3 separate regions of the Homo sapiens genome follow, and all the other regions are linked to region 3. Evidence: promoter capture Hi-C in human tissues and cell types (Jung and others, 2019). All regions are on one chromosome and are shown on one strand. Each heading gives the region's core, a stretch centred on a gene start or on the middle of the fragment in contact. The rest is flanking DNA. Distances are from core to core; before and after follow the strand shown.

Region 1 (3,629 bases), core at 843-3,342, 68 kb after region 3:
TTTGTATTTTTAGTAGAGACAGGGTTTCACCATATTGGCCAGGCTGGTCTCGAACTCCTGACCTTGTGATCCTCCCGCCTTCGCCTCCCAAAGTGCTGGGATTACAGGTGTGAGCCACCGCACCTGGCCCTAATTTTTGTACTTTTAATAGAGATGGGTTTCACCATTTTGGCCAGGCTGGTTTCGAACTCCTGACCTTGTGATCTGTCTGCCTCAGCCTCCCAAAGTACTGGGATCACATGCATGAGCCACCACGCCCGGCCGGAAAATAGATATTCTGATTGAATCAGAGTTAACAAACTTCCCATGCAGTTGCAGACAGTAGGGCAAGGGAGTTAAGGATTTTAGTACCAGAGTGGCTAAAGTGATGGACCCTAGAGTCTAGGGCCTAATGGCAATGATGAATTCAAGAGAAAGTTTTCTTTCTGCTAGATTGTGTGTGGCATACAAACACAATATTCCCTTCTAAGGGTGGTCACTCCTTTCCCTATTTCATAGGATTATGGTGAGGCAAACACAGAAGCCCGCCGTCATCCTTGCGGGAAGGCAGGTGACCAGGCTTGGTAAATCACACGGTCCTTTCCCCCTTGATTGGTCCATGGTTGAGCACCAGACCCAAACAGGGCTAATCATAGTCCTTTGTAACTGATATTTGGGAAGGATAGTGTACTCTGAGGCAACATTATATAGAATGAAAGTCTTCAATGTGGTGATCTTGGAACTGACACCTAAAAACAAACTGGCTGGCTGGACGCGGTAGCTCACGCCTGTAATCCCAGCACTTTGGGAGGCCAAGGTGGGCCTAAGGTCTGACCTAAGGTCAGAAGTTCGAGACCAGCCTGACCAACATGGTGAAACCCCGTCTCTACTAAAAATACAAAAATTAGCCGGGCGTGGTGGCTGGCACTTGTAATCCCAGCTACTCTGGAGGCTGAGGCTGGAGAATCGCTTGAACCCGGGAGGTGGAGGTTGCAGTGAGCAGAGATCGTGCCATTGCACTCCAGCCTTGGCGACAAGAGCGAAACTCCGCCTCAAAAAACAAACAAAAACAAGCTGGAGGCCGGGCGCGGTGGCTCATGTCTGTAATCCCAGCACTTTGGGAGGCCGAGGCGGCCGGATCACCTGAGGTCGGGAGTTCGAGACCAGCCTGACCAAAATGGAGAAAACCCGTCTCTACCTAAAATACAAAATTAGCCGGGCGTGGTGGCACATGCTTGTAATCCCAGTTACTCGGGGAGGCTGAAGTAGGAGAATCGCTTGAATCCGGGAGGCGGAGGTTGCGGTGAGCGGAGATGGCGCCATCGCACTCCAGCCTGGACAACAAGAGCGAAACTCCATCTCAAAAAACAAACAAACAAGAAAACAAGCTGGCTGTGCAAAATTACAGAGGAAGTAACAAGGAAAGGTTCTGAGGTGAGAATGGGCCAAGCTTGCTCAGGGAACCCAGGAAGGCTAGCTGCAGAATGCTGTTTCCGTGGCCTCGGCAGCTTAACCTAGGCCTTTACTCTTAACCTTGGTAATTCCCACGCAATCTTGAGATTTCAGGCCAAACGTCACTCCTGCAAGCCCTTCCGGAACTCAAAGCATGTCTCCCTTCGCTCCCGCCGAGGAGAGACCTGTTCCCAGGATCTGCAGCCCTGTGCTTATCAGACCCACGGAGTCTGTGGAAAGGAAGGATGGGATAAGAACGATGCGGGTTGGGAGAGTTAAAAGGGTCGCGCAAACGGTCCCCGCGGGAATGCGAAGCGGATTCTCGAGTTCTTGAGCCTAGAGCAATGCTTGGGGAGCGACACGAGGGCGCAGAGCGGCAGATCGCGGAGCGGAAGTTCATCCCCGGAGCCGTTCTAGGAAACCCGGAGGACTCAGGTCGTCAATGATTCCGGGGCTGAAGTGGGCATCGACGGGTGCACTTTGCTGTTCCAGGGAGCCGGCTCGGCAGGCGGCGGCGACGTGGAACTTGGGCTAGGGCTAGAACCGGCGAAAAGCAAGCCGGAAAAGGCAAGGGGGCGTCGGTGCGCTGACCACCTGTTCCTCCAGCGGAGTGCGACGCGCGCCGATTGGCTGGAGTGCCGCCCGGGTACCGGAAGTGGCCGATGCCCGTCGCCAGTGACACCGGGACAACAGCTGCGGGCTCTGTGCGAGCGGCCCAGCAGCGCGGAGCCTCAGCGGAGTGAGCGAGCGCGGGGCAGTAGCGGCCTGCGGTGAGACCTCATTCCGTCGCGGCTGTGGGGGTAGGCGGGGGCTGGGCTCCCAGCTCCCTAGAGAGCCGAGCGGAAACCCTACGTTTAGGCCCGTTCTGACCGGGGTTCGCTGTGTGACCTTGAAGTTTATGCCTCCCTCCATTCCCCCCGCCCCCAGGCCTTCATTTCCACCTGCACACAGAGAGGGTGGGGCCTGGACACCGCCAGGGACAGTCCCAGCTCTGGTTTGGTGCCTGTCAGCCGTGGGGGTGGGAGAAGCAGGGACACTCCCTTCTGTACCGAGGTGGGGACCCGTGGGAGCTGTGGTTTTCTCAGACATTCCACCCCCAAGTAAACCGCTAGGACGAAATGGCGGGCAGTGTCACAAACTTAACGCCCTAGTGGCAGATTGTGCCCTGTGCTGCCAGACAAGATATTGGCTTATGAGGGGTGGTCGTGAAAAGGAGACAGGTTTGAGCTGCAAAGATAGAGCCCTATTGTGGGTCAGAGGGAGAAGAGAGGAAAGGAGGTTAACAGTGCCATAAATTAAATATCACCCAGATTGGGAAAAGGAACTTATTTTTACAAACAGTTATCGACACCAGCTATGTGTCAGACACTATCCTAGGCTCTTTAGATATAATGATGAATGAAATATCCAGTTAGCCATCAAGAGTATTACAGAGGCTGGGTGCAGTGGCTCATGCCTGTAATCCCAGCATTTTGGGAGGCCTAGGCGGGAGGATCACTTGAGCACAGGAGTTCAAGACCAGCCTGGGCAACATAGTGAGACACCATCTGTACAAAAAACAAAGAAATTAGTTGGGTAGTTGGGTGTGGTGGCGCATGCTTGTAGTCCCAGCTACTTGGGAGGCTGAGGTGGGAGGATTTTCTTGAGCCTGGGAAGTTGAAGCTGCAGTGAGTCTGGGCAATAGAGCCAAGACCCTGTCTCAGAAAAAAGGGAGGTATTGCAGATTCATTATATATATAAGACAGTTACACAAATTCACTTAACATTTACCAGGTATCTGAAATATGCTAGGTACTCAGAATACCAGGATGAATGGAACAGCATCCTTGCTTATGGTCTAGAGAAGAAAATAGGTATGAAAAATTAATAATGCAGTGGGGTAGCTGCTACAAGGTGAAGGAGTAGCTGTCTGCCTTAGAGCCTGGGGGTCAGGGAAGAAAATGGAGGGGGTCAGCTGGGCGTGATGGCTCATGCCTGTAATCCCAGCACTTTGGGAGGCAAAGGTGGGCGGATCACCTGAGGTCAGGAGCTCGAGACCAGCCTGGCCAACATGGTGAAACCCTGTCTCTACTAGAAATACAAAATTAGCCAGGCGTGGTGGCAGATGCCTGTAATACCAGCTGCTTGGGAGGCTGAGGTGGGAGAATCGCCTGAGCCTGGGAGGCGGAGGTTGCGGTGAGCCAAGATTGCGCCATTGC
Region 2 (3,327 bases), core at 254-2,753, 110 kb after region 3:
TCTGTAAGGACTGAGTTCTGGCCAGGCGCAGTGGCTCACGCCTGTAATCCCAGCACTTTGGGAAACCGAGGCGGGTGGATCAGCTGGGCTCAGGAGTTCGAGACCAGCCTGGCCAGCATGGTGAAAGCCCCTCTCTACTAAAAATACAAAAATTAGCCGGGTGTGGTGGTGGGTGCCTGTAATCCCAGCTAATTGGGAGGCTGGGGCTGGAGAATTACTTGAACCTGGGAGGTGGAGGTTGCAGTGAGCCGAGATCGGGCCACTGCACTCCAGCCTGGCAGCAGTGTGAGACTCCGTCCCAAAAAATAACAAACAAACAAAAAAGACACCAGAGGGCTTTGGGTCCCTCTCTCTCTGCCATGTGAGGACCCTGTGAGAAGGCAGCCAGGGAGCTCTCACCAGAACCTGACCATGTTGGGCCCTGGTCACAGCCTTGCAGCCTCCAAAACTGAGAAAATAAATTTCTGTTGTCTGGCATCCAGTCTATGGTATTTTGTTACGGCAGCCCGAGCTAAGACAGAGGAAAACTGGGGGCTGATGTGACGGCGGGGACTTTAGGTAGAAGGACCCCACGTCAAAAGTCAAAGCTAAAAATTCTGGAACGAGCCAGGAAGGCATCAGGACGTCTCATTTTATTTGCTAGAGGCATCTTTTGGGGGGTGGGGCGGTGGGTGGGTGGAAGGAGATGTGGCCAGTGAGCCTCTGACTTTTAATTGAGTTATTTCGAAACAAGGAACAGAGGGCCGGATGTGGTGGGTCGTGCCTGTAATTCCAGCACTTTGCGAGGCCGAGGCCAGTGGATCACCTGAGGTCAGGAGTTCAAGACCAGCCTGGCCAACATGGTGAAACCCTCTCTCTACTAAAAATACAAAATTAGCCTGGCGTGGTGGGGGGCGCCTGTAATCCCAGCTACTCGGGAGGCTGAGGCGGGACAACAGCTTTAACCCGGGAGGCGGAGGTTACAGTGAGCCGAGATGGCGCCACTGCACTCCGGCTTGGGCAACAGAGCAAGACTCCGTCTCCAAAAACACACACACACACACACACAAAACCCAAAACGGAACAGAGGCAGTTCTGTATTCCAGAGGGATTGATTTGTGATGCCTGCTCAAAACTCAAGAAGCCACCACCCTGATACTCATCAAACCCCGGAGAAATTTCGTTTTTAGAGTGTCAGAAGGCCCCATGAATAACCTTCCAGTCACTGAGGGAGGTCCCTACTCAGCACGCCCCGGTCTCCTTCACTCTCCTGCACTCGTGCCTCACAGATGGCCTCATGCGCGGACTGGCGGTCCAGCCTCCCGGGGACACAGCCCGGGCGCACCCCGCGCCGCCTTTGGCCACTGAGGCGGTCCTCGAGGCGCCGGGCTAGGGAAAGCCTCCCCGGCCGTCAAGGCTGGGATAGCGCCGGGGGATCGGGGCGGGGTGCGTGCGCCGAAAGGGCCTCAAAGCTGTAGGGCTGGACGGCACAAAGGGGCGCAAGGCACGGAGGCCAGGCAGAGGGGACAGCTAGCGGCGCGGCGGGACGGGCGGGCCCCGACGCCCAGCTCCAAATGCGTGGCCGCTGTGGGAGCTCGTCTCCAGGCGCCCATCAGTCTTCCCCTCACTCGACGCTACCTTGGCGGCCGCGCCCATGCTGTCCCCGCTCCAACTAGCAGTCAGGAGGGGCCGCGGGCAGCGCTCGAGACGCTCATTGAGAGGACTTCCCGCCTGCGGGCTCTCTGCTCGACGCCACTCCCGGCCCCGCTCCGGGCGGCCCCCCTCACCACTCCCGGCCCCGCTCCCGGCGGCCCGCCTCACCACTCCCGGCTTCCCGGGGCTTAGGCCCGCACCATCGAGTCGAACCGAGTCCTCATGTTTTCCTAGACAAGCCGCTGGGGGAGAGGGGAAACACTTCTGGCCCATGTGAGCCGCCGTCTCGTGTGGTGTCTGAGGGGCGTCTACCTGGAGTCACTGAGCCGACGAAAGGGAAAAGGCCAGTGCCTGTCCGGGAAGAGCTCAGCCTAGTGGGGCGGGCGACAAGTTACAGTTGCTGCCTTACGATGGCCGTGGCCCGTGGAGGCACTAGACCCTCACCAGGGGTCTGTCAGGAAAGGCGGGCAGATACGTGAGGCCTGAACAGGAAGGAACTGGGAGACCCAAGACTGTACCGCCAAGACCGCTTTCGAGTCGGGCCGACCGGAATTTGAATTCGTTTCTTCACTTACTAGTTGTGAGTCTTTGGGCAAATTTGCCTTTCTAGAGCGTAGTTTCTTATGTATAAAACAGGGTTAACAGTTGCACTCACTGAGGTAAATACAAGAGAAAATTGATGGTAAGTGCTTATCACGGTACCCAACACATAGCAAGTACTGAAAAGTGATGGAGCTAGGTACGGAGGGAGCAATCTTCACAGAGGGAACAGCTCGTGGAAAGGCCACAGGGCAAGAGGGCGGTGCCTACATTCTTGGGGAACTGCAGAGAGTTCATGGGTAAATAATAGGAAGGAAAGGTAAGTACTTTGCAGAAAGCCTTCCCCAGCTAGGTGAGACTCCCCACTGTAGTATCATATGCCTCTCCTTTTTGGCACTTATGGTTGCAACTTTATTAATGATTCTAATTAGTTTCTCTTCTACAATTATAAGTTCCATCAGGCCAGAGACTTGTCCATTTATGCTCACCCTGCTTTGTAGCACCCGCTGCTTAACACATATTAAAAGCTCGATAAGCCTGGGCGAGGGGGCTCAAGCCTCTAATCCCAGCACTTTGGGAGGCCGAGGCGGGTGGATCATGAGGTCAGGAGTTTGAGACCAGCCTGACCAACATGGTGAAACCCCCTCTCTACAAAAAATACAAAAATTAGCCGGGTGTGGAGGCACACACCTGTAATCCCAGCTACTCAGGAGGCTGAGGCAGGAGAATCACTTGAACCCGGGAGGCAAAGGTTGCAGTGAGCTGAGATTGCACCACTGCACTCCAGCCTGGGCGACAGAGCGAGACTCCGTCTCAAAAAAAAAAAAAAAAAGCTCAATAAATATTTACAGCACAAGTGAATAAATGGGGTCGCATCAGAATATATATGTCACAATAAGGACTTTGGACTTCAGGCTGAAGTTAGTGGGAAATCACTGTGGAAATTTAGAGAGGGGGATGGCACTATCAGATTTGTTCTGAAGGAAGAACATTCCAGCTGCCCTGTAGAGAAGCGTTGGAATCAGGGAGGCATGTTAGGAGGCTGCGATAATAGTACAAGCAAGAGATGATGGTGGCCTCACTCTAAGGGCATTAAAAATCAAGACAAGTGAGGCCGGGTGGGGTGGCTCACACCTGTAATCCCAGGACTTTGGG
Region 3 (3,766 bases), core at 1,088-3,587:
CCAGGTTTTAGGTACCTAATAAATCTTTGCTGAAAGGAAGGAAGGAGCAGGGCGGGAGAGGTCAGGCTCAGGTGGAGGCAGGAATGATACTCCAAATATTAATAACCATCCGGCATAGGGACTGACCAGTCAGAAAGGACACTGGATATAGACAGCCAGCACCGCTGTACCGGTGCATACCAGTGAAGGGATGGTGCAGAGGCCAGTATACCAGTGAAGGGATGGTGCAGAGGCCAGTTTGAGCAGAGCATGAACTTCCAGTTCCACCAGGGAACCAGCCCAGCCCGTCTGGACCATGGTGTGAAGCAGCAGAGGATCAGGCCCTAAGTCAGATACACTGTGCTCTGAGCCAGACAGTGTCACTGGGGGCTGCCTGGAAGAGGTGATGGGTTACCAGAAGAAGGCTCCTCTCTGTTTTGTAAAGTCAGGTCCATCTGGGGGACTAAGCAAGCAGGGATCACTGAACCCCTGTTCTGAAAAGAGGAGAGGGGTTTTGCCTTGCCTGGCCCAAGCCACATTGAGGGAGTGAAAGAGCTGTGGGCGGTAGGCCAGGCTGCGTGTCTGGGGTCTTGTCTGGGGCTGGGTACCCTGGGGCTTTGGGGTCCTTCTGAGGGATCCAGACTCTTCTGGGACCCAGCCACACCTAGGTGGAAAGAGGGGCTACGGATGCGCTCAGCATGGCTTCCAGCCACCTTTGTATACCTGGAGCTGGGCCGCTTCCACCACGGTTGCAAGGATGGAGGAAAAGCAGAAAGGACTGGGGAGACTGGTGGGGTGGAGGTTTCTTCCTTGGAGAGCTTGCAGAGATGCCACCTGCCAAAGCCTGGGGACCAAAGGAGGGGGTTCTTGTTTTAATTGTTCTTATAAAGGTAATACACACCAGAGAGAACATTCTAATAGTTCTAAAAGGTGTGTACAGTGAAAAGTCTCCAATTTACAGCATTTTGTTATAGAAAAAAAAAAAAAGTAACTCTCCATCCTTCCCACCCTTAAGTTTCCCCTCAGAGGCAGCCTTCATTATGAGTTCTTTTTTTTTTTGAGACGGGGTCTTGTACTGTCACCCGGGCTGGAGTGCAACGGTGCAATCTTGGCTGACTGCAACCTCCGCCTCCTGGGTTCATACGATTCTTCTGCCTCAGCCTCCCAAGTAGCTGGGATTACAGGCGCACACCATCACACCCGGCTAATATTTTGTATTTTTAGTAGAGATGGGGTTCACTATGTTGGCCGGAGTGGTCTTGAACTTCTGACCTCGTGATCCACCCACTTCGGAGTCCCAAAGTGCTGGGGTTACAGGTGTGAGCCACCGTGCCAGGCCCATTATGGGTTCTTACTATATTCTCCTTGGGTCGGGCCTGGTGGCTCACACCTGTAATCCTAGCACTTTGGGAGGCCAAGGCGGGTGGATCACGAGGTCAGGAGATTGAGACCATCCTGGCTAACACAGTGAAACCCCGTCTCTACTACAAATACAAAAAATTAGCCACGTGTGCTGGCGGGCGCCTGTAGTCCCAGCTACTAGGGAGGCTGAGGCAGTAGAATGACATGAACCCGGGAGGCAGAGGTTGCAGTGAGCTGAGATCGCACCACTGCACTCCAGCCTGGGTGACAGACAAGACTCTGTCTCAAAAAAAAAAAAAAGAAAAAATGTTCTCCTAGAGATGCTGTCTAGGAGATGTTATAACACATGTACAGGCATATGTTATATAGAACTATACACATTTACTCACATTCACGGCCTCTCTAATAGTTGTAGTTGCATATCTATTTTATTTATTTATTTTGAGACAAGAGTCACACTCTGTCGCCCAGGCTGGAGTGCAGTGGCACAATCTCAGCTCAGTGCAAACTCTGCCTCCCAGGTTCAAGTGATTCTCATGCCTCAGCCTCCCAAGTAGCTGGGATTACAGGCACCCACCACCACGCCGGGCTAATTTTTGTATTTTAGTAGAGACAGGGTTTCGCCATGTTGGCCAGGCTGGTCTCAAACTCCTGGCCTCAAATGATGCACTGGCCTTGGCCTCCTGAAGTGCTGGTATTACAGGTGTGAGCTACTGTGCTTGGCCTGCATACCTTATTTTAAAGCTTCCTTTATTTTTTTCACGGTGTCAGGGTATTCTATTGTGTAGATGTAGGATAATGTATTTAACCAGCTTCCCACTGATGGACATTCAGATTGTTTCCCATTCCTTGATACTACAAAAAAAGGCTACAATGCATAGTCTTACAAATGGGTGTTATCTGTAGAGCAGATTCCTAGAAATGGAGATTTTGGGTCAAATGGTAGCCATGTAAAATTTTAATCTAGGCCGGGTGCGGTGGCTCACGCCTGTAATCCCAGCACTTTGGGAGGCCGAGGCGGGCGGATCACGAGGTCAGGAGATCGAGACCATCCTGGCTAACAAGGTGAAACCCCATCTCTACTAAAATAGAAAAAATTAGCCGGGCGTGGTGGCGGGCACCTGTAGTCCCAGCTACTTGGGAGGCTGAGGCAGGAGAATGGCGTGAACCCGGGAGGCGGAGCTTGCAGTGAGCCGAGATCATGCCACTGCACTCCAGCCCAGGTGACAGAGCGAGACTCCGTCTCAAAAAAAAAAATTTTTTTTTTAATCTATATTGCCAAAGTGCCCTCTGAAGATTATAACCATACCAATTTATTTTACTTTTTTGAGATGGAGTCTTGCTGTGTTGCCCAGGCTGGAGTGCAGTGGTGCAATCTCGGCCCACTGCAAGCTCCGCCTCCCGGGTTCACGCCATTCTCCTGCCTCAGCCTCCCAAGTAGCTGGGACTACAGGCGCCCACCACCACTCCTGGCTAATTTTTTGAACCATACCAATTTATACTCCCAAGGGTAACATACAAGAGAGCCCATTTCCCCTCGCCCTTTCCCACATTCTGGCTTAGTAAGACTTTTCTCTTTGCCTGTGTGATTGGTGAGAAGGTGTCTTAAGGTAGTTCACTTTTACATTTTTCTCAAGGTGGTGAGGATGAACTCTTCTCATGTTTAAAAGCCATGTGGTCTAAAGCCAGAAGAGAGAACTGTTAGACTCATGGGGAAATGGGTTTGGTGTGAGTAGCTCCAACAGGGAATAGTTGGGTCTTAGAGGAAAAAACTACAGTTTGTCTTGGAGGGAGCCTCCTCTTGCTAAGACCCCCACCACCAGGGCTAAGGATTGCTTAAATCAGTGGTGTTCAAACCTGGTTCTGAGCTGCCTTCTCAGGGGCTGAGGATAGGGACAGGACCAGACCCTGGGGCTCTCACCCCCAGCCTGGGCCTGAGCAGCTTCTTGCTTATCTGCTTGATGTCCTAGGCTTCTAGAGAAGGTTTCATTTTGAACAAAGAGTTATAGGGCTGAAGAAAAAGTTGAAAAGCACCGCCTCAAATCGTGTTCCCTCTCCCCAGGGATAGATTGCTTTCTGCTTCCGGAGCCCATCAGCGTTTGCCAGTCCCAGAGCAGGCCTGACACTGCAGTGTAGGGAGGGGCATGGGAGTCCCTCAGGAGAAGTGTCGCAGGAGTGATCCTTGGAGCACTTGGGTGAAGGGCGGATGCACAAGATACACAGACACCTCTGGGGGACACAGCTTTGGGCTCTGAGTGTTAAGTGGCTCCCAGAGAAATAGAGGTTCGACTCCGTGCTGTTTCCCTTCTGTACCCTGTGCTTTCTGCCTCCATGCTTCTGTCCAGGCTGCTTTCACCCGGAGCGCTCTTGTGCATGTCCACGCCCTCCTTGTCCTCAAAGGCTGGCTCCCATGTTACCCTTCCAT

Evidence for each region. The method cuts DNA at HindIII sites, captures the fragments that hold promoters and counts their contacts. A contact is called where the count stands out against the background at its distance.
Region 1: a contact is called between the fragment with the promoter of ZFP3 here and a fragment that was not itself captured in region 3, in 6 of the 25 tissues and cell types used here (dorsolateral prefrontal cortex, lymphoblastoid cells, mesendoderm cells and 3 more).
Region 2: a contact is called between the fragment with the promoter of USP6 here and a fragment that was not itself captured in region 3, in 2 of the 25 tissues and cell types used here (H1 embryonic stem cells and lymphoblastoid cells).

Annotation. Positions count from the first base shown.
Region 1 is chr17:5,076,375-5,080,003 of GRCh38, forward strand. ZFP3 (ZFP3 zinc finger protein) reads left to right here and starts at 2,093. Exons shown (of 2, transcript NM_153018.3): 1 at 2,093-2,201. It overlaps ZFP3-DT (ZFP3 divergent transcript), which reads right to left and starts at 1,739. Exons shown (of 2, transcript NR_186458.1): 1 at 1,513-1,739. RefSeq lists enhancers at 1,561-2,432, 1,800-1,869. The HindIII fragment of the contact is 17,416 bases long and covers 1-3,629 here.
Region 2 is chr17:5,114,529-5,117,855 of GRCh38, forward strand. USP6 (ubiquitin specific peptidase 6) reads left to right here and starts at 1,504. Exons shown (of 38, transcript NM_001304284.2): 1 at 1,504-2,212. It also overlaps a transcript of ZNF232 not described here. The HindIII fragment of the contact is 4,107 bases long and covers 1-2,189 here.
Region 3 is chr17:5,008,160-5,011,925 of GRCh38, forward strand. All of the region lies in intron 16 of KIF1C (kinesin family member 1C), which reads left to right. Among named protein-coding and RNA genes, the nearest start is that of KIF1C-AS1, 10 kb to the right of the region's middle. The HindIII fragment of the contact is 9,299 bases long and covers 1-3,766 here.